2 separate regions of the Homo sapiens genome follow, and region 2 is linked to region 1. Evidence: promoter capture Hi-C in human tissues and cell types (Jung and others, 2019). All regions are on one chromosome and are shown on one strand. The core of a region is centred on a gene start or on the middle of the fragment in contact, and the rest is flanking DNA. Distances in the headings are between cores, read along the strand shown. Region 1 holds the start of SPATA3 (spermatogenesis associated 3). Region 2 has its middle 24 kb from the start of GPR55.

Region 1 (6,863 bases), core at 3,249-5,748:
ATGATTGCTAATAAGGTCTGGGGGCAGAGCCTGGCCCTGGGGACTGTGTGCCCCGAGGCTCCAGCCCCTCGCGCTTGGAACCTGTAGAAGGTGAGCAGGTTGGGGAGTCCTCTCCCTGGCGCCATCTGCCAGTCCCGAGGCAGAAGGACATCGAAGATGCGGCTATGGCATAGCCCCAGACGACGCCAGCAAGCGGAGCTGCAGGGGCAAGTGGCACAGGAGCAGGAATGCGGGCCGGCGCGAATCAGAGGCCCTGTGGGGACAGAAGGAGAGAGGTGAGGGAGGCACCTGCCCTGGGAGGCTGGGGCGGGGGAGTCTGGAACACAGTCTGAGAAGGCCCCCCACAACGGCAGCAGCTGCAGGATTACCAGGGCGAACGCTGGATTTTTTCCAAGGCATCATTGAGGATTTGGGACTGAACTACCTAAGGAAGGCAGTTCTCCCACAAAATGTTCTCTAACCAAACAGAAGAGAAGACTGACCGCATGGGAAAATGGCTGTTTTATACTGGTGCTACCTGGGAGTAGCAACAGCGACGACAACAACGATGATGATGATGGAGGTGGTGCTGATGGTGCCATGGCTTACACCTTCAGGATGCTTTGCACTTAGCATGCTCATCTCATTTAATTTCACAGTAATCCTGTAAAGGGGATACTGCTGGTCTTGTTTTACAAATAAGGAAACTGAGGCTCAGCTAATTTAAGGGATATGCCCTTTTGGGGAGTAGATTACAGAAGTTGGCTTTCTCAACTCAGGCTTTCTCACGTTTAATTCAGTGAAAATGGAATTTCAGGTGACTGCTCACCTCAGGAGAGGCTGCACTGACATTCCTGGAATTGGAGCTGCCACGTTCCATTGATCTAGAGCATTCTGATCCATCCAGAAGACAACCACAGCTCTAGTTTCCAGTCCCGATCCTATTTTCTGTTTCTGTCCTCCTCTGGTATGGATCCCAGCAGAATGTAGATGATGCCCTCTGTGGTTGGGCAAGATAATTTCTGGCTGGATTATTCCCTCCTGTTTCCTATCTGTAGCCCTGCGTCTTCTTGACAGAGCTACAGATTCTTCTGACCCTAAGCTGCATGAAACAGGTGGTCAACCTGGCAGATTCAATACACTTTCTGCTTAGACTTGCCCACGACACGTACTTTCCCGGAATGAGGAGAGGGGATTCTAAAGGCAAGACTTGTCTTTTTTTTTAATTACAAAAAAGTTTTTAAATTGAGATATCATTCCCAGGCAATAAAATTCACCCTTTTAGAGTGCTCAGTGGTTTTTAGTATATTCACAAAGTTTTGTGGCCATCACCACTAATTTCAGAACGTCTTCATTTCCCCAAAAAGAAACCCCATCTCCATGAGCAGTTACTCCCCACTCTCCCATTTCCCCCAGTCCCTGGCAATACATTTGCCTATTCTGAACATTTCATGTAAATAGAATCATTCGATGTGTGGGTTTCTGGGAGACTGGATTCTTTCACTTAGCCAAGTGTCTATAAGGTTCATCCAGGCTGTACCATGTATCAGGACACTATCTCTTTTTATTGCCAAATAGTATTTCACCATACTCATTGTACTGTGGTATTTCATACCACATTTTGTTTATCCATTCATCAGCTGATGGACATTTGGGTTGTTCCCACTTTTTGGCTATTACAAATGCTGCTGCTTTGAGCATTTGTGTACAAGTTTTGGTGTGCTTCTAATATGCTTAATAAGATGCTTCGAATTCTCTTGGATGTATACTGAGAAGTGGAATTGCTGGGTCATAAGGTAACTTCATGTTCCTCTGAGGAACCACCAGACTGTTTCCACAGCAGCTGCACCATTTTACATTCCCGCCTACAGTGTATGAGGATTCCAGCTTCTCTACATCCTCACCAACACTTGTTATTGTCCATCCTTCTGATTATACCCATCCTAGTGGAAGACTGGCATTTTCTTGAGCTACAATATTTCTGCACACAAAAAGGCTTGGATTTTAGAAAATGGCACGCTTTACTTGCAGGCCCTCATCCTTCATCTCCAACATTCCTTTCTACGCAGAGAATTCCTTTGGAAGAAGTATAGGGTGTCTGCTGTAACCACTGGCGAGCCACCACCATTTCTTGCTTTCTTGCTTTGCCTGTTCAATGGGCCAAATTCTTCTCTGAGTATGAGTCACATGTGTTCATTAAAAGACTTGGGAATGGAAAGTCTTGCTTTCTACCAGTACTGAAGATGCCAGTTCTGAAGATCATAACCCAGAAATGTTTCTCTCACTGGCTGATGATCACAATCTTTACAACATATAGTATGGTGCTCAAAATCAATATCATATGTCAAGAAAGGTTTGATTCCTGGCCATGGAAGGATCATTGGCATGGCATGCCTTATATTTAGCACTCTCATCTCCATCACTTATTTATTTTATGCCCACACAATCCCGGGGGGTAAACTGTGGCCCAGGGAGTGTGGCCTGTTCAAGGCTATGGAGTCGTGGGCACTGGCTCATGGCAGATCCAGGAGATGCTCGGACAGAGATGTTCTTCCTCTTGTGGAGACTCCTAGGCCTCTTGGAATGGAAAGGTCAGTGCTGTGGTTTAAAGTGAGGGTTCTGGAGTCAGAATAGAGTGGGTTTCCCTTCTCAGGGCTACCAGCGTCTGCTCAGGAGCAACCTGTTTGACTCCTATGAGCCTCAGTTTCCCCATCTATAAAATGGAGATAATATGGAAGAACTTTTATAGGATTATCACGTGTGAAAATTAAGACACCTGATCTGAATGCTAGGTACACAGTAAATGCTTAGTGATAATGTTAGTTTGCTATCACCATTATTGTTAGTAGTATAAACCAGCCCACCTCCTGAACTCCACTTGAATTCCCTCTACACAATCCAATGCTTATACAGACACTGTTTGGCTCCCAAGAAGACAGGGAACCACTTTTCCTGACAGCCATTCCATTTTCAGACAGAGCTAATTGTTGGGAAGTTTTTTATGTTGAGCCGAAGGCTTTCTGTCACTAATGTCTTCCATGGGTAAGATTGCTAATTTAGCAAATAAAAATATAGGATGCCCATGCAATACTGGGGACACACATACTAAAAATATTATTTGTTGTTTACTAAAATTAAAATTTAACTGAGAGTCTTGTATTTTGTCTGGCTATCCTATCCATGGGCCTGTATTTGTCTGTTTTCACACTGCTGATAAAGACATATCTGAGACTAGGCAATTTACAAAAGAAAGAGGTTTGTGGAACTTACAGTTCCACGTGGCTGGGGAGGCCTCACAATCATGGTGGAAGGTGAAAGGCACATCTCACATGGCGGCAGACAAGAGAAGAGAGTTTGTGCAGGGAAACTCCCTTTTTTAAAACCATTAGATCTCATGAAACTTATTCACTATCACGAGAACACCACGGAAAAGACCCTCCCCCGTGATTCAATCACTTCCCACTGGGTCCTTCCTACAACACCTGGGAATTCAAGAAGAGATTTGGGTGGGGACACAGCCAAACCACATCAGACCCTTAGATCTCTGAGGACAATAAGGAACAAGTCTATTCACATCTTCCACTTGACAGACAGACATCCTCCAATTCCTTCAATTGACTGTCATACACTAAATGGTCTCCCTGATCCTTCTCATCCTCCATCAACCCAGACTATCTTCCTTGGACTAGTTTGTCAGGCATCTTTTACAGCCCAAAAGGATAGCTTGATGAGGACAGAATAAAGCAGTATCATCACCTCCCTTATTCTAAACCATATACTTCTATAAATGCATCCTTGGTTTTTATTTTTTAGCAGTTGCATGGCACTGCTGATTCCTAGTGAGCAAGTATTACTATGGAACCAAGTTAAATGTTTATATGTATGTGTGGCTGTCTTCAGTGAGACTCAGGATGATGAGAAATGACAAAACCCAGGAATCCTGGTCTCTTGGGTAGAAACAAAAACAAAAACCTTCCCACTCTACAGCACAGCTCCAGGATACACGTTAACCATGCATCACTATCCTACAAGAACCAGCCTTTGGGATGACCCAGAACTCCATCAGCAGGAAGGCTGGAACTGCTGAAGCTAGAAGACAGCCCACCTGCTTTCCTGGATTGAGGGGCTGCCTTCACGTTAGCATCTGGAGATAAAAGGCAGCAAGAGGAGCGGCGGATTTCGGGTGCTGGAAGGGCTTGGAATGCTGGCTGCCGGGAGGTGGTTTCAAGGCTGGAATGCTGTGGTGTGGATTCAGGGCTAGGCTGCTGTGGTGTGGATTCAGGACTAGGCTGCTGTGGTGTGGATTCAGGGCTAGGCTGCTGAGAGGTGGAATTGGAGCTAGCATGCTGGGAGGTGGAGTCTCGGTGGCGTCTGGCCTCTGACCTTTTCTTCTTGACCTTCTTCATGGTAGATCCTCCCAACCTAAACGTGGACCTACATGGAGCTGCGTAATCTCCCGGCTCCCTCCTGGAGGGGCCGTTTGCCCTCTGCCCTAGGAGCCTGGCTTGGGCCTCCAGCTGGACCCAGGCCCCACAGAGAACAGTGACCCACACCTCCTGTGAGGTCATAAAAGCCAGGGTGGCTCCTATGGCAGGGCTTCAAGGGACAGTCTTCTCTGCAGACACCAGCCTGGTGTCCTCCTTCATCCCAGGCTGCCAGGCTAGGCAGGGGACAGCGGCTGCCCTGGTCCTCACAGCCCTGGCTACGGGGCTGGTGACAGCCAGATCCTCATGCTTCTGCGACCTGAGCGCTGCCTTCAGACACCTCTCTGCTGGCGTGTTCCTGGGTCCATGTGAGCTACCTGTTTTGCTCTAAGATACCCTGGATGTGACGCTCAGCTCTGTCACTGGCTTCCACATACCCCCTACTCCTACACCTCAAAAATCCATGTTCCCCACGCATTCATCTTCAGGTCAGCTTCCTGAAGATTTGGAGCTTCTTCGAAGGCTTTACCATGGCCCAGAGCCTGCTACCATCTCAGAGTAGCTTACCCCTTCCCCCAAAGCCTGCCCTCCCGCACTGTGGGAGGGGAGTTTGGGGGTTGACTTGACTTTTATAAGAACCTTTGCATTTGGCAGATAATTTTCCCTGAGAACATAACAGCTGTTCAGAAAACTAACATTTGTCTCAAACTCATGGCAATGGCAACCACAGACTATCTCCCAAACCCCAATTGGTTGGGTTAAACAGGTGACTGAATCTTTCTCTAGATTAATTAATTTAATGTGCTCATTAAATGTGATTTTTGTTTTAGGATGGAAGAAGGAAAAGTATTTTTAAAAGACAATCTGAAGCTCATACTGTGACTGCAACATAAAATGTGTTCACCTGAGGAGACTGCTTTCATCGCCAGTGTGTCACAGGTGGGTGAGTGTGGGACTGGCAAGCGCAGGAGCTCCTGCCCCAGCGGAAGGTTTAGAGCAGACCTATGCAGATAAAAAGGGCTTCGGTCACGCCTGTAATCCCAGCACTTTGGGAGGCTGAGGCGGGCAGATCACGAGGTCAGGAGATTGAGACCATCCTGGCTGACATGGTGAAACCCCGTCTCTACTAAAAATACAAAAAATTAGCCGGGCGTGGTGGTGGGTGCCTGTAGTCCCAGCTACTCGGCAGGAGAATGGCGTGAACCTTGGAGGTGGAGCTTTCAGTGAGCCGAGATCGTGCCACTGCACTCCAGCCTGGGCGACAGAGCGAGACTCTGTCTTAAAAAAAAATGGGGGGCTTTGGGCCACACAAAGCCAGACCCAACATGAACTCTGAAATGACAGGACATAGTTTAGGGCTTCTAGAGCCTAAAAATACCTTAATGATGACCTTTCCTCAGAACACTGAGGTTTAGCGAAATTAAGTTACTTTCCCAGGGTCACACAGCTGGCTGGGGGCATCGGAAGGACTAAATTCCAGTTTGGGGCTCATTATTTTCATGATCCCAGAAAACAATAGGGAGTCAGATAATTATACAGGCTTTGAAATAATGAATTAAAAAGTCCCCCAGTGGCCTGGTGCGGTGGCTCACGCCTATAATCCCAGCACTTTGGGAGGCTGAGGCGGGCAGATCATGAGGTCAAGAGATTGAGACCATCCTGGCCAACCAACATGGTGAAAACCTGTCTCTACTAAAAATACAAAAATTAGCTGGGCATGGTGGTGCACGCCTGTAGTCCCAGGTACTCAGGAGGCTGAGGCAGGAGAATCACTTGAACCTGTGAGGCGGAGGTTGTGGTGAGCCGAGATTGTGCCACTGCACTCCAGCCTGACGACAGAGTGAGACTCGTCTCAAAAAAAAAAAAAAGGTCCCTGAGCGAGAAGATTGAAGAAAACAAAGGCAGGAAGGATCAGAAGTGAAGGCAAGCTCAGCTCAAGAGTATTGGGTTGTGTTTGGTTGACCTTGGCCTAAGGAGGCTCTGGGAGCAAGTGAATCTGTATGAAGCTGGTAATTTCCTGAAGCCAAGAGCAATGGAACCCTTGAGGGGACTCCATTTAGAATCAGAGAGACTGGAAACCGAGGCCGGGAACCCTGTTGAGATCTAGCAGACAGCTCAGGAACTCCTAAGGCATTAATCTCTGCAAAGTTGGATTTTCAGGTACCAATGGGCTTCGGCCGAGGGCCTCAACCTGGTTTAAATCAGTGTTTTTCAACCTCAGCCCTGTTGACATTTTTGGGCTGAGTAATTCTTTGTTGTGGCGGGTCATCCTGTGTATTGTAGGAAGTTTACCAGATCCCTGGTCTTTACCCAGTCTTTACTCCCCCCTACCCCAGGACAACCCAAAATGTCTCCAGATATTGCTAAATGTCCCCTAGAGATGGGGTAGGAGTGTGTGTGTCCACATTGCCCCTGATTGTGCCATGTTGGTGTAAATGAATCAGATAGGAGCAGACACAT
Region 2 (6,586 bases), core at 2,172-4,671, 47 kb after region 1:
CTGCCTCCAAGAGGCTGGCTCCTGTGGGGGCCGGCCTGAGGATGTTCCCTGGGGACAGGGTGGCCGTGGGCCATTTCAGCTGTGCAGATGCCCGATGGAAGCTTGTGTTTCTGTGATGTGAAATCTCCCTGTCTCTCTGCAGTCCCTGAGCTTCAGAAACGCCCATGACACCTTGTGGGCAGGGGTTCTCTATAGGACTCCTGGAAGAGTAGACAAGTAACTGACAAGCGGCACCATGGGAAAAGCAGAGGCTGTAGAGGTGTCAGCAGCCCTGCCCTGGGAATGTGCAGAAAACTTGGGAGGGCATTGGCCATCCCCAGATCACACAACAGGACATCCCACGGAGGGCTGTGGCCTTCCTTAGCCCTCTGGGCTCACAATGAGCCAACCTCATGTAGAGTTCAAGGCACGGCCAGGCTCCAGCTGACTTCTGGATCACACCTGCTAAGACCAGGTAGTACCTTTTAATCCAATATTATTACTGAAGGCTTGGGCATAAGAAGAGAGCACTTTAGCATAGAAGGAGCATTCCAAAGTGCTCACCAGGATTGTGGCTCCTGGCACACAAGCTGCGCCCGCCCTCAGGCTTTCCCTGTCCCTATAGGCCTTGGCCTGCTGCCTGCAGGAGGGTTTGCCCACATGTCCTGATGAGAGCTCAGGTGACCATGTCGTCTCTATCTTTGAGGTCTAGTAACCCCCCCTCCCTCTCCAAATGTACCTTCTCTTGCTGGATGTGGTGGCTCACACCTGTAATCCCAGCACTTGGGAGTTTGAGGCAGGAGGATGGTTTGAGTCAGGAGTTTGAGACCAGCCTGGGCAACATAGCAAGACCCCCGTTTCTGCAAAAAAATTAAAAAAAAAAAAATTAGCCGGGCCTGGTGGTATGTACCTGTAGTCCCAGCTGCTCAGGAGGCTGAGGTAAGAGGATCATCTGAGCCCAGGATGTTAAGGTTGCAGTGAGCCATGATTGTGCCATTGCCCTCCAGCTTGGGCAACAGAGCAAGACCCTGTCTCACAAAAAAAAAAAAAAAAAACCCCAATAACAACAAAAAACCCACAAATGTACCTTCTCTGGGCCTAATGAAAGGGAAAAAAATCCCTGCTTACCCTCAGTTGTCAAGATCCCAGCCAACTCTAAGTTGTGAATGGTACAAAGCGGAGCTGTCAGCCTTTTGAACTCCTCTGGGTCAAAGGGTAGGCTATTTTTAAGGCCCCTGGTATGTGTTGCCAAGTTGCCTTCTAGAAACCACATAGGCTGCCCTCTTCCCTAGACATCTGCCAGCACTAAGCATTGCCATCTAATAAATCTCTGCCAAGTTGGTATGAAAAAATCTCATTTTCATTTTTAGTTCTTTGATTACGTGTGTATATTTTAAAAATATGCATATTGTTTCAGGGAAACACTCCCAAACCATGTTTTTCCTCTGTTCTCACACCACCACGACAACAATCATCAACACAGAAGGAGAATTCTGGGACCAGATGTGTGGGGGGTTGTCCCACTAAGCCGCGGACAGCAGCGGGGTGTCCTCCAGTTCAATTCCAACACTGTCTACCTGGAGATAGTCTTACAGCCCACAGGTTGAGGGCTCAGTCCCAAGACTATCCCTGACCCAGACACAAGTCTGGCCCTTCGGAACTTCTGACCGACCAACTTCAAGTTGGGGTTCCCACAACGCCCTCTTTGGGTTTGATCAATTTGCTGGAGTGACTCACAGAACTCAGGGAAACACATTAGCCCGTTGATTCTAAAGGATGTTACAAAGGACACTGATGAAGAGATGCACAGGGCAAGGTATAGGGGAAGGGGCATGGAGCTTCCAGGAACCTCCGTGTGCTCAGCTCTCCGGAAGCTCTCTGAACCCTGTCCTCTTGGGGTTTTTATGGAAGCTTCATGATGTCAGCGTTCCTTCTCTCAGGGCATAGGACAGAACCCTCTCTGGGGAGAGTCTTAAGACCCACAATCAGAAAGGCGGGGGAAGATACGAGTCCTGCCTTGCGGCAGGTGAAAGGAGAGCTGGAGAAGGCCAGAGAGATTCTGTTTCCTGAGGCCTAACACAGCCACTGTCATAACACGAGACTGTAACAGGGACTATGGGGGTTCCGAGCCAGAAACTGTGGACAAAAGCCAACACGTGTGTACTTATCATAACACCACACATGTCACTTCTTGTGAATGATATTAGTAATAATGAAAAACCTATTTCCAGTGTCGCGAATCTCTATTTAGATGTGAGAAAAAATGTTTGACTTATGTGAAGCAGAGAAGGTTTCCTTATCTGTGCAGCTCTCGTTATGAGGTCTGAGGCTGGAGTGCGGGAAAGAAGAGCAAAACGAGAAAAACAAAAAAGAGGGGAAAGAGAAGATGAGAAGAAAATAAAAGTGGCAAGAAGAGATAAAAAGACAAAAAAGCCAATTGCTCTAATTGCTCTGCGTCTTGTCCTGGGTGCCATGCCTGGGAGACAGGCAGGTAGGCGATGGGCTGAACAAGGTCTGTCCAGCACACTCTGCATTCTGCCACATCATGTGCAGGCCAGTGGTTCCCAGACAATGTGGCTTCAGGACCCCTTTACACTCTTAAAAAGTGTTAAGGATCTCAAAAAGCTCTTATCTATGTAGATATCTATCAGTGTTTCCTGTGTTAGAAATTAAAACAAAGAAACTGGCTGGGCGTGATGGCTCACGCCTGTAATCCCAGCACTTGGGGAGGCCGAGAGGGTGGATCACGATGTCAGGCGTTCAGCCTGGCCAGCATGGTGAAACCCCGTCTCTACTAAAAATACAGAAAAATTAGCCAGGCGTGGTGGTGGTTGCCTGTAATCCCAGCTATTTGGGAGGCTGAGGCAGAGAATTGCTTGAACCCGGGAGGCGGAGGTTGTAGTGAGCCGAGATTGTGCCACTGTACTCCAGCCTGGGTGACAGAGCGAGACTCTTGTCTCAAAAAAAAAAAATAAATTTAGTGAGAAGAGAAGCATTATTTTTACATTTCCACAGATCTCTGTGATGCTGGGCTTTATGAAAGATGGTTGGCCTCTCCTATCTCTATTCAGTCTATTGTGGTATCACACAGCATACAGCCTCCAGAAAACTCCACTGTACACTCACTAAAGGAAGACAGTGGAAAAGGAAATACTAACAACATTTCAGTATTATTATGAAAATAGTTTTGACCTTGTGGATCCCCAGAAAGTGTCCCAAGACCACCCTTCCCCACAGAGTGCCTGAGCCACACTTTGAGAAGTGCTGATCTAGGCCGGGGAATTGATGGAATCCACCCCATTCTTCCCAGGAAGGCAATCTTACAATAGCTATCAAGAACTTTAAAAGCAGGATGGGCGCGGTGGCTCACGCCTGTGATCTCAGCACATTGGGAGGCCAACGCGGGCAGATCGCAAGTTCAGGAGTTCGAAACCAGCCTGGTCAACATGGTGAAACCCCGTCTCTACTAAAAATACAAAAATTATCTGGGTGTGGTGGCAGGTGCCTGTAATCCCAGCTACTCGAGAGGCTGAGGCAGGAGAATCGCTTTAACCCGGGAGACAGACGTTGCAGTGAGCTGAGATTGCGCCATTGCACTCCAGCCTGGGTGGAAGAGTGAAACTCCGTCTCAAAGAAAACAAACAAACAAACAAACAAAAAAAGAGCCATAAAAGCATTAGGGCCTGTTGATGTAGTGATTCCTCTTTGGGGACTATATTTTATATTTATTAATTTTATTTTTTGAGACAGGGTCTCAGTCTGTTGCCAAGGCTGGAGTGCGGTGGCACCATCCCAGCTCACTGCAGCCTTGACCCCCCTGGCTCAGATTATCCTCCCACCTCAGCCTCCCGAGGAGTTGGGATTACAGGCGCACGCCACCAAACCGGACTATTTTTTGTAAAGATAGGGTCTCCCAATGTTTCCCAGGCTAGTCTCAAACTCCTGAGCTCAAGCAATCCTCCTGCCCCTGCCTCCCAAAGTGCTGGGATTACAGGCGTGAGCCACCTCGCCCAACCCTCAGGGAATATATTTTAAAACAATAATTCCCAAAGGAAGGAAAAACTTCCTAAATGACCTATAATTGGGGAATGGTTAAATAAATGCTGGCATATACATTTAATAGAATATTATGTGGTTTAAAAGGATAATGATGAAGACTCTGCACTGGCATGGAAGGAATATCTACAGCTCTAAGTGAAAAAATCCGAATTATATAACTGACTCTTCACCATGCCTGCCAATGTCATGCTGGCTCTGCCTGGAAACAAAGCCTCAAAGGCAACGAGAGAAAGTAGGTTCTATTCCATATATAGGGTAGGGACTATGGGAGAATTTTTCCTTCTCTTTTTGGTTTATTTTGATTTATTTATTACTATTATTATTATTTTGCAATTAGTGAAAACAAAAATCAGGACTGTTGAATCTGTCTTGCTTCCCCAGGTCAGTGCGGTTGGGAGGTGTGTGGAGAGCAGCCACCCAGACCCAGAGGTCAGGAGATGGGGAGGGAGGAAGGAGTGGGGGAGGCTCTGAGTGGGGAAGTCAGGCCTGGAGGGGCTGATAGCTCAGCTGGTTCTAAGTTCCCTTTCAGTGCTGACTGAGAAAGCTCTCCTAAGCAGCTGTTGTCAGAGGCCTGCGGGAGACACAGACCAAGCATAGGGGCTGTGCTTTGCCTCACCAAGGGAGGAAGCTGTGGGGGCGGCCAGGGGGTGGGCGGCGGTGGCAACTGCAGCACCCAAGACCTCTTGGAGAGAACTGAAGTCAGTGGCCACACCCATGTCACAAAGGAGCCGGGCGGGCACTGCAGGCTTCATCCACTGATGGGGAGCTTGACAGACACCAAAGCCACCGTGGCCTGGTGAGGCGGGATGCCGAGTTTCTGCTTAGGTAGGACAGGGCCAGATTTGTATTTTAGGAAGCCTCGCTGTAGCTGGGTGCAGGCTATGTTAGGAGTTGGAGGGGGGGCACCAGCTGAAGTTGAACACAATGGTACTTTAAAAAATAGCACTAAAAGGCTGGATGTGGTGGTCGACACTTGTAATCCCAGCACTCTGGGAGGCTGAGGTGAGAAGATTGCTTGAGCCCAGGAGTTCGAGACCATCCTGGGCAATATAGTAAGACCTAGTCTCTACAAAAGTTAAAAATTAGCCTGGCATGGTGGTGTGCCCCTGTGGTCCCAGCTACGTGGGAGGCTGAGGCACGAGGATTGCTTGAGCCTGGGATGTCGAGGCTGCAGTAAGCTATGATTGGGCTACTGCACTCTAGCCTGAGAGACAGAGTGAGACCCTGTCTCAAAAAAAAAAAAAAAAAAGGTCATAAAGTTGACCAACAGACACTCCCTACTGGAGTGGAGAGTATGGGATGGGCTTTATTCCCCTGAGCTAAAAATGTAACCAGGGTCCCAATTATACCTTGCAACTTAGATGCAATCTTCTAGGATTGCAAATGTGCTCTTTCATCGTGCTCTTGCCCTTTGCATTGGAGCCCAGTTGGCTGGTGCACGTCCAAGGTGCAGCTGGCAGGCTCCAGCTTTGCTGCTGCAGCACACCTAACCAACTTCAGTAAGATCGCCCCATAACCAACAAAACTCTGGTGGTGCTGACCAAGGGGAGACTGATACACAAACTGGGTTGTTGGCAGCCAGGCAGGTTCCCACACCCATAGTGGAAAGGAGCGATTTGTCAGCTAATGGCTCTTTCTGGCTTGGGCATGATGAAGGAATGGAAGGCGTGGGTCTGTGGTGTGGCCAATGTGACAGGGCCGTCAGAAAGTTGAATACACTGAAGTCAAACATAGGAAATGAGCAATAGGGTTAGTTCAGCATGAACCTATGCCAATTCTTATTTACTTTTTGGGGTTCACTAAAATATGATGTGATTAAGATGTTCTGCTCTCTAGTTTGGTGTGTGTCTCAAAGAACCTCAGTGGAGTCCTAAAGAACCACATGAGCACCCCCAGCCACAGCTGCCTTGCCCTGGCCCCTGCCCCAGTTAGGCCCTGGAGGTCCCTAAAAGGTCTGATGGGCTGGGCCTGCTTTCTTCCAGCTCTGCCAGAGTGGAAACTTGGCCCCAGCTATGGCCTGGTCCAGGTGTGGGCTGCAGTGGGAACTTGTCCCATGCTACTGGGACACCCTGCTTCCACAACCATCAGCTTCTGCCAGCGTCATTTCACTGATCTCTAGTTCATTGATCTCTACCCTCCACCACTTACACTGACCTCGTGGCATCTTGGCCTAATACTACAGGGTGCATCTCTTCTGATGAGGACACTTTTTTCTCCACACTCTCCGGTCCTCAGCTTTGTTAAGGTACACGTGACAAAAATTGGATATGTGAATGATGAACAGTGTGAAATTTTGATATATGTATACACTGGGAAATGATTAAATCAAGCTAATGAACACATCCATCGATCACACAGTTATCTTTTTTGTGTGTGTGTGGTGAGAACATTTCAAATTTACTCTTGTAGCAATTTCCAAGTTTACAATACAGAACTATTAACTACAGTCACCATGCTATTATATACAATAGATCTCCAGAACGTATTCCTCTTAACTGAAACACCTTTGACCAACATCTCCCCCTTCCACACCCTCCCTAGCCCTCCA

The links. The method cuts DNA at HindIII sites, captures the fragments that hold promoters and counts their contacts. A contact is called where the count stands out against the background at its distance.
Region 2: a fragment that was not itself captured here is called in contact with the fragment with the promoter of SPATA3 in region 1 in 16 of the 25 tissues and cell types used here (H1 embryonic stem cells, IMR-90 fibroblasts, adrenal gland and 13 more).

What each region holds. Positions count from the first base shown.
Region 1 is chr2:230,993,756-231,000,618 of GRCh38, reverse strand. SPATA3 (spermatogenesis associated 3) reads right to left here and starts at 4,498. Exons shown (of 5, transcript NM_139073.5): 1 at 4,085-4,498; 2 at 82-253. The coding sequence starts at 4,385. It overlaps SPATA3-AS1 (SPATA3 antisense RNA 1), which reads left to right and starts at 4,587. Exons shown (of 6, transcript NR_033879.1): 1 at 4,587-4,771; 2 at 5,234-5,342. RefSeq lists an enhancer at 4,454-4,987. The HindIII fragment of the contact is 25,386 bases long and covers 1-6,863 here.
Region 2 is chr2:230,946,205-230,952,790 of GRCh38, reverse strand. It overlaps a transcript of GPR55 not described here. Among named protein-coding and RNA genes, the nearest start is that of GPR55, 24 kb to the right of the region's middle. RefSeq lists enhancers at 1,973-2,032, 2,163-2,212, 2,403-2,472, 2,683-2,732, 6,030-6,189. The HindIII fragment of the contact is 9,664 bases long and covers 1-6,586 here.